Regions from separate parts of the Homo sapiens genome. Here regions 1, 2 and 3 are each linked to region 4. The links are contacts of gene promoters, found by promoter capture Hi-C in human tissues and cell types (Jung and others, 2019). All regions are on one chromosome and are shown on one strand. Each heading gives the region's core, a stretch centred on a gene start or on the middle of the fragment in contact. The rest is flanking DNA. Distances are from core to core; before and after follow the strand shown.

Region 1 (2,710 bases), core at 26-2,525, 560 kb before region 4:
GAAAGAGAAAAGGAGAAGAATTTACAATTTACATGCTTTTATTACTCACAAAGTGCCTTCAGACTACAGGTAGATAGGTGGTAGGACATCTGGACTGTGAGTTAACTCTCAGGAGACAAGCAATTGCATTTACTATCCTGTTCTTTCCTCCAAGGCTCCTCCACCAGCAGTTGTTAAAGCCATACTCACCCTTCACCAAGGCACGGCAATGATTCCTTCCTAAAAGCCCCGATGTGTGACATTTTCCAGTATGAAACAACTGATTGAGTTGGAACAGATTAATTTCATTAGTTTATAAAACTAAAAGAAAAAATGTAATTGTTTTGCTTTAAAAGGTGTAGGCAAAATTAAAAAATAAAAAGAGAAGAGAAAAAAAAAAACAACAAAAAGGTGCAGGCAAATTTTATTCTTTTCCCCCACTACTCTTCCTTTCTTTCCTTTCTTTCTTTCTTTCTTTCCTTCCTTCCTTCTCTTTCTTTCTTTCTTCCTTTCTTTCTTTTTCTTTTCTTCTTTCTCTTTTTTTTGGCCAACAATTTATAATTATTTAGTTGTTAATAGATGGTAAAGAGACTTTTCCGAAACTTGAATAATACTGACATGAAAAAGACTACAGTCAGCTAAAACTCCAATAAGACATAAAAAAATTTAAAACCAGAAAATTTAAATTTTCGGTTTTCAGAGGGGAAAAAAGGCAAAACAAGGTTAAAAAATGAAGCCAATGGGCAGTAAAGAGAGGGAAACTTATAATGAAAATAAACCTAGGGTTGTTTATTTTGGCAGGAGTATTTGGGTCATTTTGAAATGCAACTATGACAAAGAATTTTTCCATATTTTAGGAATAAAGAAACAAAATGCTAAAAGCTATTGCTAACATGAAAAATGGCACAACGCCTCATGAACTTTTGTCTAATAGTTGATTAATATTGCAAGTCACATTAATTTTATTATTTGCTACATAGTGACGGCTATGTTGTCTGTACAGAGACCCAGACCAGAGGCCTAGGAATATTGTACTTGAAAATAAGAATATCTTGATTAGAAAATATTTGAGATGTAACTTAGTCACTGTCTTGGGCTTAAAAGAACTTTTATATCACAAATAATAATTATTTTGTATATCGAGTAGGGGTAAAAAGAATAACTGAATGGTGGCAGCAGGCTTTGAGGTAAGATTAGATTAGGGAGATAAGGGAAGCCCAGAAACATGTTCCTTAGGACAAGGATGAAAATCTCCCTCCTTTGAGGCCACATGCTACATAACTATCTGGGATGGTTTAGGGGACAGAATCAAAGACCCTAGCAGGACTTTCCATTGTGGAGCTATAGCCAACTGTTTAGAGGACTCAGTCATATTTGCCATTCTTCTTTAATTCTCCATTGTTTCGTGCTATTATTATTTCAGTGTTTTTCCTGCCTTGGATTTTTGTCTCATGTACTTACTTCTGGTCTTTCTTTGGCATTCACTGTTTTTCTTTTGTTCCCATCTTGTGTTAACTCTAGGTGGGGAGATGGAGGAGGACGAAGGGAGACAGAAACTACAGCCTGACATCAAGAAGTTTCTCCCTTGCTAAGTACAAAATCGGGAAGAGAAATGCTTAGACACGTTTCCCACAAGGTGGGACATTTCCAACTCACCAAAGCAGAAGCTAGATGTCGAATAAAGTATAATTTATTACTTATTAGGAAATAAGGTTAAAACTAGAATCAAAGACTCTAGCAGGACTTTCAGTTGTGGTGCTAGGGACATTAAGACTGAATATAATGCAGGACTTGGTGGCTCAGGCCCATAATCACAGCACTTTGGGAGGCCAAGGTGGGAGGATCACTTGAGTCCAGGAGCTCAAGACCGGCCTGGGCAACATAATGAGACCCTCATGTCTAAAAAATAGAAATTTAGGCTGGGCGTGGTGGCTCATGCTTATAATCCTAGCACTTTGGGAGGCCGAGGCGGGTGGGTCACCTGAGGTCAGGAGTTCAAGACCAGCCTGGCCAAAATGGCAAAACCCTTTCTTTATTAAAAATACAAAAAAATTGGCCAGGCGTGGTGGTGGGTGCATGTAATCCTAGCTACTCAGGAGGCTGAGGCAGGAGAATTGCTTGAACCTGGGAGGCGGAGGTTGCAATGAGCTGAGATCATGCCACTTCACTCCAGCCTGGGCAAAAGAGCAAAACTCCATCTCAAAAAAAAAAAAAAAAAAAAAAAGAAATTTAAAATTCAAAATTTAAAAATTAGCCAGGTGTGGTGGGGCAGCCCCATAGTCCCAGCTACTTGGGAGGCTGAGGTAGGAGGATTGCCTGAGCCCGGGAGATGGAGGCTGCAGTGAGCTATGGTCATGCCAGTGCATTCCAGCCTGGGCGACAGAATGAGACCCTGCCTCAAAAAAAAAAAAAAAAAGACTGAATATTAAAGTAATAGATCAACAGTAGAAGATTGTATTAGAACATGTTTCAATATAAAAAGATACTGAGGGTCTTCATTGCTTTGAGGTTTGAAAAAAACAACAGCTGAACATTGAAGTTTTCCAGTGACTGAAGTAACAAAAAGATGAACCTAAATTGTTGTGGAAAGAGATGTTAAACATGAAGCAGATTTCCAGCTTTCTAAGGGCTATAAAAGCCATTTTAGATGAAACGCAAAGCAGACCCCACCCCTTCAAGTATGCAGTTCTACAAGAAGAATGCAATAGTGCAGTCAACAAAATAACACCAA
Region 2 (2,700 bases), core at 173-2,672, 710 kb before region 4:
TTTCTGTAATCTACAATAGAATAGCAAGCTTTTAAAAATAGTTTCTCATGCTTAGATGGTGTTTATTGACAGATGGCATTGTATTTAGTAAAAGGAAAACCAACAGAAGACAAGAGGGACTTCAAGAAATCCTCCTTTACTGGGACAAAGATGCAAATCATTGTACTATTGACCAAAGATCAAAGGGACAAAAAACAAGAAAAAGAATTTGAAAGGGTCAAAAGGAACATCCAGAATACAGAAATATAAAAATTGGTTTTCAAATAATTAAGGGTTCTGCTTGCCTAGCTCAGAACGCAGAAGAAGGGTGTTTGCCTCTTCTAAAATGTGAAAATTTGAAAATACTTTTACAGGAACCAGAAGAGGTTCAGAGATCACCACTCAGCAATGTAGGCAGGCTGCATTTATAGACAGAAATCGCAAAGCAGGTACAGAATCAGCTTCATTGGTTACGGTTCTGCATTTGCCTTATTGGGGCATGATCTGATCACTTACCAGCCTATGATTGGCTGACACTCAGCTGCTGTCGTTGGCTGAGATAAAGAAGTTACCAAAAATATACTGTACTACTAAATTAGGCTTTTAGTTTGTCTACCTACTAACATAGGTTGTAGTTCATTAGAAAGGGGTTGAAGGTACAGAGGGCAACCTTAAGCCAAATTTAGTTTAATTTAATAATATGTTACAGAATTGAGATTTACTTAATATTAATCACAATTACCATTAATTAATTCTAAATGTCAGAAATTTTACATGAGTTTTTCTAATTCTGTTAACAACTCCTCAAAATTTGTATTATTTTTCCTGTTTTTATATAATAATTAAAATTAAGGCACATAGAAGTAAGTTAATTGCCCAATGTCAAACAGCTGAAAAATGGGAGATTTGGAGAGGAGATTATTTTTTGCTAGGCACTGCACTAAACACTTTACATTACTGAATTTAATTTTTACAACAGTCTTTTAATGAGAAGGAAATTTAAGAAGGAGTTAAATAAAAACAGAGGCAGGACTCATCCCAGGCTGCCTGACTCCAGAGTTTGTAATCTTACCAATATATAGTTTATTGTCTTCCTAAATGACTTCTGAATTTCCCACTTGAGAATGTTTAAGCTTAACATTGGTCGTATCCTGGTGTATTCGTCTGTTCTCACACTACCAATAAAGACATACCAGAGACTGGGTAATTTATAAAGAAAAATAGGTTTAATGGGCTCACAATTCCATGTGCCTTGGGAGTCCTCACAATCATGGGAGAAGGCAAAGGAGGAGCAAAGTCACATCTTACCTGGTGGCAGGCAAGAGAGAGAGCATGTGCAGGGAAACTCCCCTTTATAAAGCCATCAGATCTCATGAGACTTATTCACCATCACAAGAAAGCATGGGAAAGACCTGCCCTCATGATCCAGTTACCTCCCACCAGGTCCCTCCCACGACATGTGGGAATTATGGGAGCTACAATTCAAGATTTGGGTGGGGATACAGCCAAACCATATCAGTTGGTTTCTAATTGTTAACTCTCAAACAAGTCCATAGTGGTTATCCTTCAATCAAGATTGCAAGATTAGAACTAAAGAATGAGCACTTCATACTATGCCCTGAAGAATTTTAGCATCAAAACTGATGTGTGCCTGCCTCCAAGGGATTAGTATGTCAAGGCTTGATAGTCTTCAAGTCCTTCCCTTTTCCACAAAATACCTTTTGGATAGTCTGATACTTGGTTGCATGTGTAGTGGTTAATATCACAAGCATCGGATTGAGGTGACCTTTGGTACAATAGCTAACTAGCTTCAGAAATTCTTAGTTATGTGATTTTGGCCAGTTAGGCCATTTCTCAAGTCTGAAAGGAATTCTTACCACTGGAGAGGATGATATAGTTAAACCTGTTTCCCATTTGTCAGGTTCATGGTTTCCCAACACAGTAAATGTGAGAAAACATAGTGGCAAACTTATTGCAGGGGATTATTTCATGGTGGCATCAATAAAGGTCAAAAAATAAACCTAACTAGGAAAGTTATATCTCTTAAAAATCATCTAACGTATTTAGAAGTTTGTTTTAGACTTATACTTTTCTATGAACCCTCAAAATCTATAATAGAATAAACAATATGCTTTTATTATTAAGATACAAATTATTAGTATTTGTATCTCTAACAGTTTTCAGAAGACCTACTTAAATGATGATATACAAACAAATTCTAAACTGAGAGTAGATTGAAAGGCAACCTAAATAAAGTATTCAAAAATTTTTTTTATCAAAGAGAATTATCTTTTTCTGAGTTGCACATAAGGTTTTTTTTAAACTATTGTTGTTTTATGCATTTTTGAGGCAATCCAAACCAAAAGATAAATTGCAATTGAATTATTTTGCTCTGAATTTTATTTTATCCATTAGTTGAAAACCTTTATAAATGTTCTAGAAAGAAATATCATTGTGACCTTTTCTTCCAATCCTAGAAAAAATGATTTTTTAAATTAAGATGATTATATCTCAGCCCTAATAGTAAGTATTAGATTTTCAGGGGCTGATAAAATTGGAAACTTAATTTGGAGTCTCATGTTTAGCATAGCTTCTTCTCCTTCTCCTTCTCCTTCTTCTTCTTCTCTTTCTTCTCTCTCTCCTTTTTCTCCCTCTCCCTCTCTCTCTCCATCTCCCTCCCCCACCTCCTCCTCCTTCCCCTTCACTTTCTCTTTCTTTCTT
Region 3 (2,700 bases), core at 11-2,510, 510 kb before region 4:
TATCCTTTGTTTTTGTGTCTCCTGGCCTTGCCAAATTCAGCTGCTTTCATTCCAGAACAGGTGTGGGATGATGGCTTGGTCTCTCACGGCAGCACCCTTGAGGATCCTCACTGCCTGTGCCGCACCAGTAGTATCATTAGAGTCAGACAGAAAGGAAATGGAAAGAAGGAGATTTTACTCCTCTGTAGCTATTGTTGCTCTTGGCAGGGTGCTACCAGGAGGCCTAGATATGTACCACTTAAAGCTTAAATACTACAGCTCATTCTACCAGAGAGCCCTTTCAACACAAAAGCTGAAGTCAACTATGCTCCTTTATGAGGTGACTCATCTCAAATGATAAATACAGTGTGCCTCCCCCACACAAGAACAGATGTGGCAGATATGCCCCCTATAGAGAATGCTTTGCAAAAGCTTTGGGACTGCAGAGATTTTGTTCCGAAAATAATGCTTCGCATTTCTCCACCATTTTCCTCCAAAGTAGTCACAGCATTTGGGACGTTGGGGAGGGGAGGGCATATCATGCCAAGTAAGTGATGTGAGGCTCAGCTGAAGGAAAAGTGTCCACCCAGTGTTGAGCCAGCAAAGACTGCAAGGGGTTGTTAACACAATCTGGAAACTCCTCCCCTGGAGATCCTTAAGACCCATCCACCCAAGGTGGCTTCTCTCAAGCCTGCCAACAATCCACAGCATGCACTGGGTGATTTTTGAGGCTATTTTCCTCCATCAGATGAAAGGAGATGCGTGTAACATACCCACAAACAATACTTTTGCCCACTTGGTTCCATCAAATCTTACAAAATCTCTAGAATATGAGCAAAAGAAAAATTACATTCATTATCTTTTTCTGTCTACATTATTTATTTTTGTATTTATATTTAGACTGTTTCATAGAAAAGTAATGCTTATCTGACTGCCTAAGCTTAATTAAGCCTTTGCAACATGGTTTTTGAAAAACTGGCTTCTTCCCAAGATGCTCCACCTGCCACCTGGCGCAACTGCTTCCACTGGTTGATTTGCTGCCATAGTTAAAGACATGGTTAAATATTCCCAGGGACCCAGAAATCCCACATTGCAATGTGAAAACTACCATTCTCAGTAGGCATATTCCATTCTCAGAAATCAGTCCTTACCCAAGAACATGAGAATATTTAAGACAGGTTTTATGGAACAATGGAGAGTTCAGAACAATGAACTCTCACTTACAGTCCTATCGGAATTCTGTTCCAGGCATCTCCACTCCCGCACACGCACTGTGAGATGCACTGTGATGCTTTTCAAATAGCCAGGCCTTAACTAAAGTGGAAAAGGTGCTTTGTAAATTTCCATTTCAAAAGTTGCCTGAAGGTTTGTGTTGCATGGTAATGCTTCTATTTAGCGGTACATGCATAGTTTTAAATTTTCTAGAGAAGTGTGTTAAACTATTTTGGTTATGGCTTCAATAGATGTCAATTAATGTGTTTCATGTACAAAAACTAGAAAACTTTAAAGAATGAGATAAAGATGAAATAAACATATTTAATATTGTACTAATCATGGTGGCTTTATGCTTTAACTAATACATCCAAGAAAAATATGTTAGGACAAGGTTCATTGTTCACTAAGGTAGGCATAAATCTTGAATTTAAATGGCTTTTCTGACAATTTTTTTTTACTAACTTGTCAGATATTAGGCTGTCGTTTTCTTTACTTAACTGAGGAATAGCTCTTATTTGGAAAAGAGCTATCAGGGCAACCATTTTCTTACAGTATCCAAGTGCCTGTTCTATTAAGATTATCTTAAATTTAGGTTTACTTTGCAAAAATATTTTGAAGTCACTTGCCCATTTTGTGAAGACTAGTTTAGTAAAATCTGGATAATAAATAATTCTGTTCATTTAATCATGCATATATAAAACTATAATGCACAGCAATATCTCAAAAACAAAAATTCAAATGATTGCATCACATTTAAGCACACCATCCAGCTCCTGGTTTCTCACCACACACTTTTAGGATGTGGTGACTGACATGCATATGTGGTGAGGATGCCAATGTCATTCCACATGGCAAATTAGTAGTGTTTTACCATTAGGAAAGTGAAAAGACAAGCCACAGAAAGGGAGAAGATATTTTTTAATACATATACCAGCAAAACCTCCGTCTTAGTCCATTTTGTGTTGCTATAAATGAATAATATCTGGGGCTGGGTAATTTATAAAGAAAAGTGGTTTATTTGGCTCATGGTTCTGCAGTTTTTACAGGAAGCATAGCACCAGCATCTGCTAAGCTGCTGGTAAGAGCTTCAGGAAGCAAGAGAGATGGGGGCAGCGTCATGCTCTTTCTAACAACTAACTCTCACAGGAACTTAAAAGAAGGAGAACTCACTTCTGAGAGAGGGCATTAATCCATTCATGAGGGATCTGTTCCCGTGACTCAAAAACTTCCCACTATTTGTCACCTCCAACATTGTGGATCAAATTTCAACATGAGATTTGGAGGAGATAAACACGCAAACTATAGAAGACTGGTACAAATAATTCTTTCAGATCAATGAGGAGGGAGAACAACAACCTAATCAAGAAAACAAGCAAAATACTTGAGCAAAAAAAGAATTGTTTAGATGGCCATGAAATTTTTTTAAAATTGCAAAAATCATTAGTCATGAGGAAACTAGAAATTAAAACTACAGTGCAATAGCACTACACACACAAAAGAATTATA
Region 4 (2,700 bases), core at 166-2,665:
CTGAAGCCATACATTTTCCTGGATTTAGACAGTTTCCTCCTCCATTTGCCTTTATTTCCTTGCATTCTCTTTTCATCGGCTCCATTTTTGCTGAGTATTCCTTTGCTTTATTCCCAACGAAAATCGAAAAGACTTGATGTTCTGAGAAATTCTGAGACTGGCAGTTTTGATTTTTCTTAAAAGGATAAAAATTGCATCAGTCAACACCTCCCTCCACACTCCCCCCACACACATCCTCATCTTCCTGGAAGATGATACAGTATCCTAGAGCGTTGTGGAGAGGATGGAGAGGTCAAGGAAGCCCTGGCTTTGCAGAGGCACCTGTCAAGTTCGGGTTAACAGCTGCCGCCTGTGTCTGCCCTCTGCAGTCCAGGGAAATAGTACCCACACGGTGAGACTCCACCGATCCGGAACTGGAGAGGGTGGGGGGTTCTAAGGTTTAGTGTGACACAAATGTCAGGGCAGAACTTTCAAACAGGCTGAGCCCCAGTTCAACGTGGGTGAGTGCGCCTGAGAGCCCAGCTCTGGGAATTGAGCAGACTGAAAATGTGGAGAGTAGTTTGGCCAGTGAAAAATTGTCACCGTGTTCGGATCAATGCTTTGAACCCGCTTTTAAGTGCGCCACGTTCACTTGGGTCAGGCTCTGGACATTGCGGTGGGCTGAGGTTTTCGCGGGCACGATCCCCCACACTGAGTTTTCATGGAGACGACCAGGGCCGTCGAGGCGGGGAAGGGAACGGACTAGAGGCTGAACTTTGGCTTCTTGCTCTGAAAGATCACTCCTCCGGTTCCGGGGCAGAGACTCAGACCAGCCTGTGGGATTACACGAGACAGGATCGAGTCCAAACGGGTCCCCAGCTCGGCAAGGCGCGCCGGAAGGAATCTAAGTGTTTAATTAACTGCCCCCTTCACACACCCCCCGAAGGAGAAGGAACTCAAATAGGCACCCCTACCCAAATCGTTTGATCAGAGGAAATTGGGTTTGTCTCTCCCCCACCCCCCACCCCGTCCCTTCACTCTTCCTGTGTTTCAGTCCATCGGGATTGTTGGTTAAAAAAAAAAAAAAAAAAAGGCTTATAATCGGGGGCGGGGCAGAGGCTCCGAGCGAGCCGCACTTGCGACTCTGGACCGCGGTTGGTGAACTTTTTTCTCCCTGCGCATAATCCGCCTGCTGCTCTGCCCCACTGGCTGCGCGTGGAGCCGGTCCCAGGCCTGCTCGCAGCCCTGCCCCCGGGCGCGGCCCGAGCCGGGCCCGACCTCGCTTTCAGGGCCGAGCCGGGGTACGCGTGGGCGCGCGCCCAGCGGCCTCGATCCCGCGGCGGCGTCCGCGCTCCGCGTTTTCGCTCGCGCCGGGCCCCGCGGCCGAGGGCGGGGTGCGCGGCGGCGCCGCAGCGCGCGGCTCCGGAGCCCGAGCGCACTCCGCCTGCAGCCCAGCTGCCAGCGCCGTCTCCCGCGGCCGCCGCCGCCCGACAGCGCGCCCGGAACATGCCAGCCTCGCGCAGCCTGCGCTGACTTCCCCGAGACGCGCCGCGGTCGGCACGGAGACTTTCTGGGCTCTGGATGGTTCGTGCGCTGCTCACCCTCGCCCACCCCTGACGCCGCGGACCGCAGCTCCTCAGCCCCGCAGCCCCGCAGCCCAGCAGCCCCGCAGCGGCGCCGAGGACAGTGCAGCCGAGTTGCGTCTCCCTCGCGCGAGGTGAGTGGCAGCCTGGATCCCGGCGGATTCCGCAGAGGGGGCTGCGGCGCGGTGGTGGGGGGCGAGCGCCGCAGGGGTAGGGCCGGGCACCTTCGCTGGCACCGCCGGAGTCTGTGACACCCAGACTGGGTCGGTGTCGCAGAAGATCAGGGAGAAGGTCATAATCGGTTTGTTGGGCTGTGTAGACAGGGAAAGCAGATATTGGCTGCAGCATCGCCAGGGCTCCGCAGAGGCTCTCCGCATGGCTCCTGTTTGCTGCATCACAACCAACTCTTCCCTTGGTTTTCTCCGGCGTGGAAACAGGTTCTGTAGCCCGAGGGTCGAGGCGATGCGGGGCGCCGGGAGGCGAGGGTGCGTTGGCGTGTTCCCGCCGCTTAGGATCGCCTGTCACCTACTGGCGTCCGGAGGGAGGGTACCGATTCTCTCCTCTAGCGCTGGGGAAAGGGGCTGGTGGCTTTTTGGCAGAGGCGAATCAACTCCCACCACTCTCCCCAACCCCCTGCCCCGCGATGGTGTTTGCTGAATGTAGCACAGATATAGGGAAAAAATGGGAGCGTCTTCCTCTCTTGAGGTAGAAAAAGTTGAAGAAACTAGGCATGTTAATAGTTATTAGGAGCGGGACTCAGGATGCAGCAGAAAGCTGTTAAATTTTCATTACCCTCTAAGAAAAACAAACGGCATCGCCAGTGACTATTGGCAGTGCTGTGTTATTCTTGGGACTTTGGGAAAATTGTTCACAGATTGTCTTCAGGAGGCTGAAGAACGAGGTTGGGGGTTGGGAGAGAGGGAGGACGGCTGCATCACGCTTAGTTCCAGCTTGCCTAAGGAGGGTTCAGGATCACAAGCCGAACGCGTTTGGTTGCTGATTTTTAAAAGGGTATCAGCGGCAGAACTGAGACCATGAACAAGGCAAACACACCACGGGAACCAGCCTAAAGGAAAAAAAAAAAGCACCAACAACTACAACCAAAAAAACATGTAAAAATCTGCCTCTCCTGCAGAGT

What was found. Contacts are between HindIII fragments. The study calls those that stand out against the background at their distance.
Region 1: a fragment that was not itself captured here is called in contact with the fragment with the promoter of PRICKLE1 in region 4 in 2 of the 25 tissues and cell types used here (dorsolateral prefrontal cortex and lymphoblastoid cells).
Region 2: a contact is called between a fragment that was not itself captured here and the fragment with the promoter of PRICKLE1 in region 4, in 2 of the 25 tissues and cell types used here (dorsolateral prefrontal cortex and mesenchymal stem cells).
Region 3: a fragment that was not itself captured here is called in contact with the fragment with the promoter of PRICKLE1 in region 4 in 2 of the 25 tissues and cell types used here (lymphoblastoid cells and mesenchymal stem cells).

Annotation. Positions count from the first base shown.
Region 1 is chr12:43,152,063-43,154,772 of GRCh38, reverse strand. No RefSeq gene overlaps it. Among named protein-coding and RNA genes, the nearest start is that of LINC02461, 1.9 kb to the left of the region's middle. The HindIII fragment of the contact is 3,731 bases long and covers 1-2,710 here.
Region 2 is chr12:43,299,900-43,302,599 of GRCh38, reverse strand. No RefSeq gene overlaps it. Among named protein-coding and RNA genes, the nearest start is that of LINC02461, 150 kb to the right of the region's middle. The HindIII fragment of the contact is 3,606 bases long and covers 1-2,700 here.
Region 3 is chr12:43,102,349-43,105,048 of GRCh38, reverse strand. No RefSeq gene overlaps it. Among named protein-coding and RNA genes, the nearest start is that of LINC02461, 52 kb to the left of the region's middle. The HindIII fragment of the contact is 3,057 bases long and covers 1-2,700 here.
Region 4 is chr12:42,588,461-42,591,160 of GRCh38, reverse strand. It overlaps PRICKLE1 (prickle planar cell polarity protein 1), which reads left to right and starts at 1,415. Exons shown (of 8, transcript NM_153026.3): 1 at 1,415-1,696. RefSeq lists an enhancer at 135-692 and a silencer at 1,162-1,411. The HindIII fragment of the contact is 9,160 bases long and covers 1-2,700 here.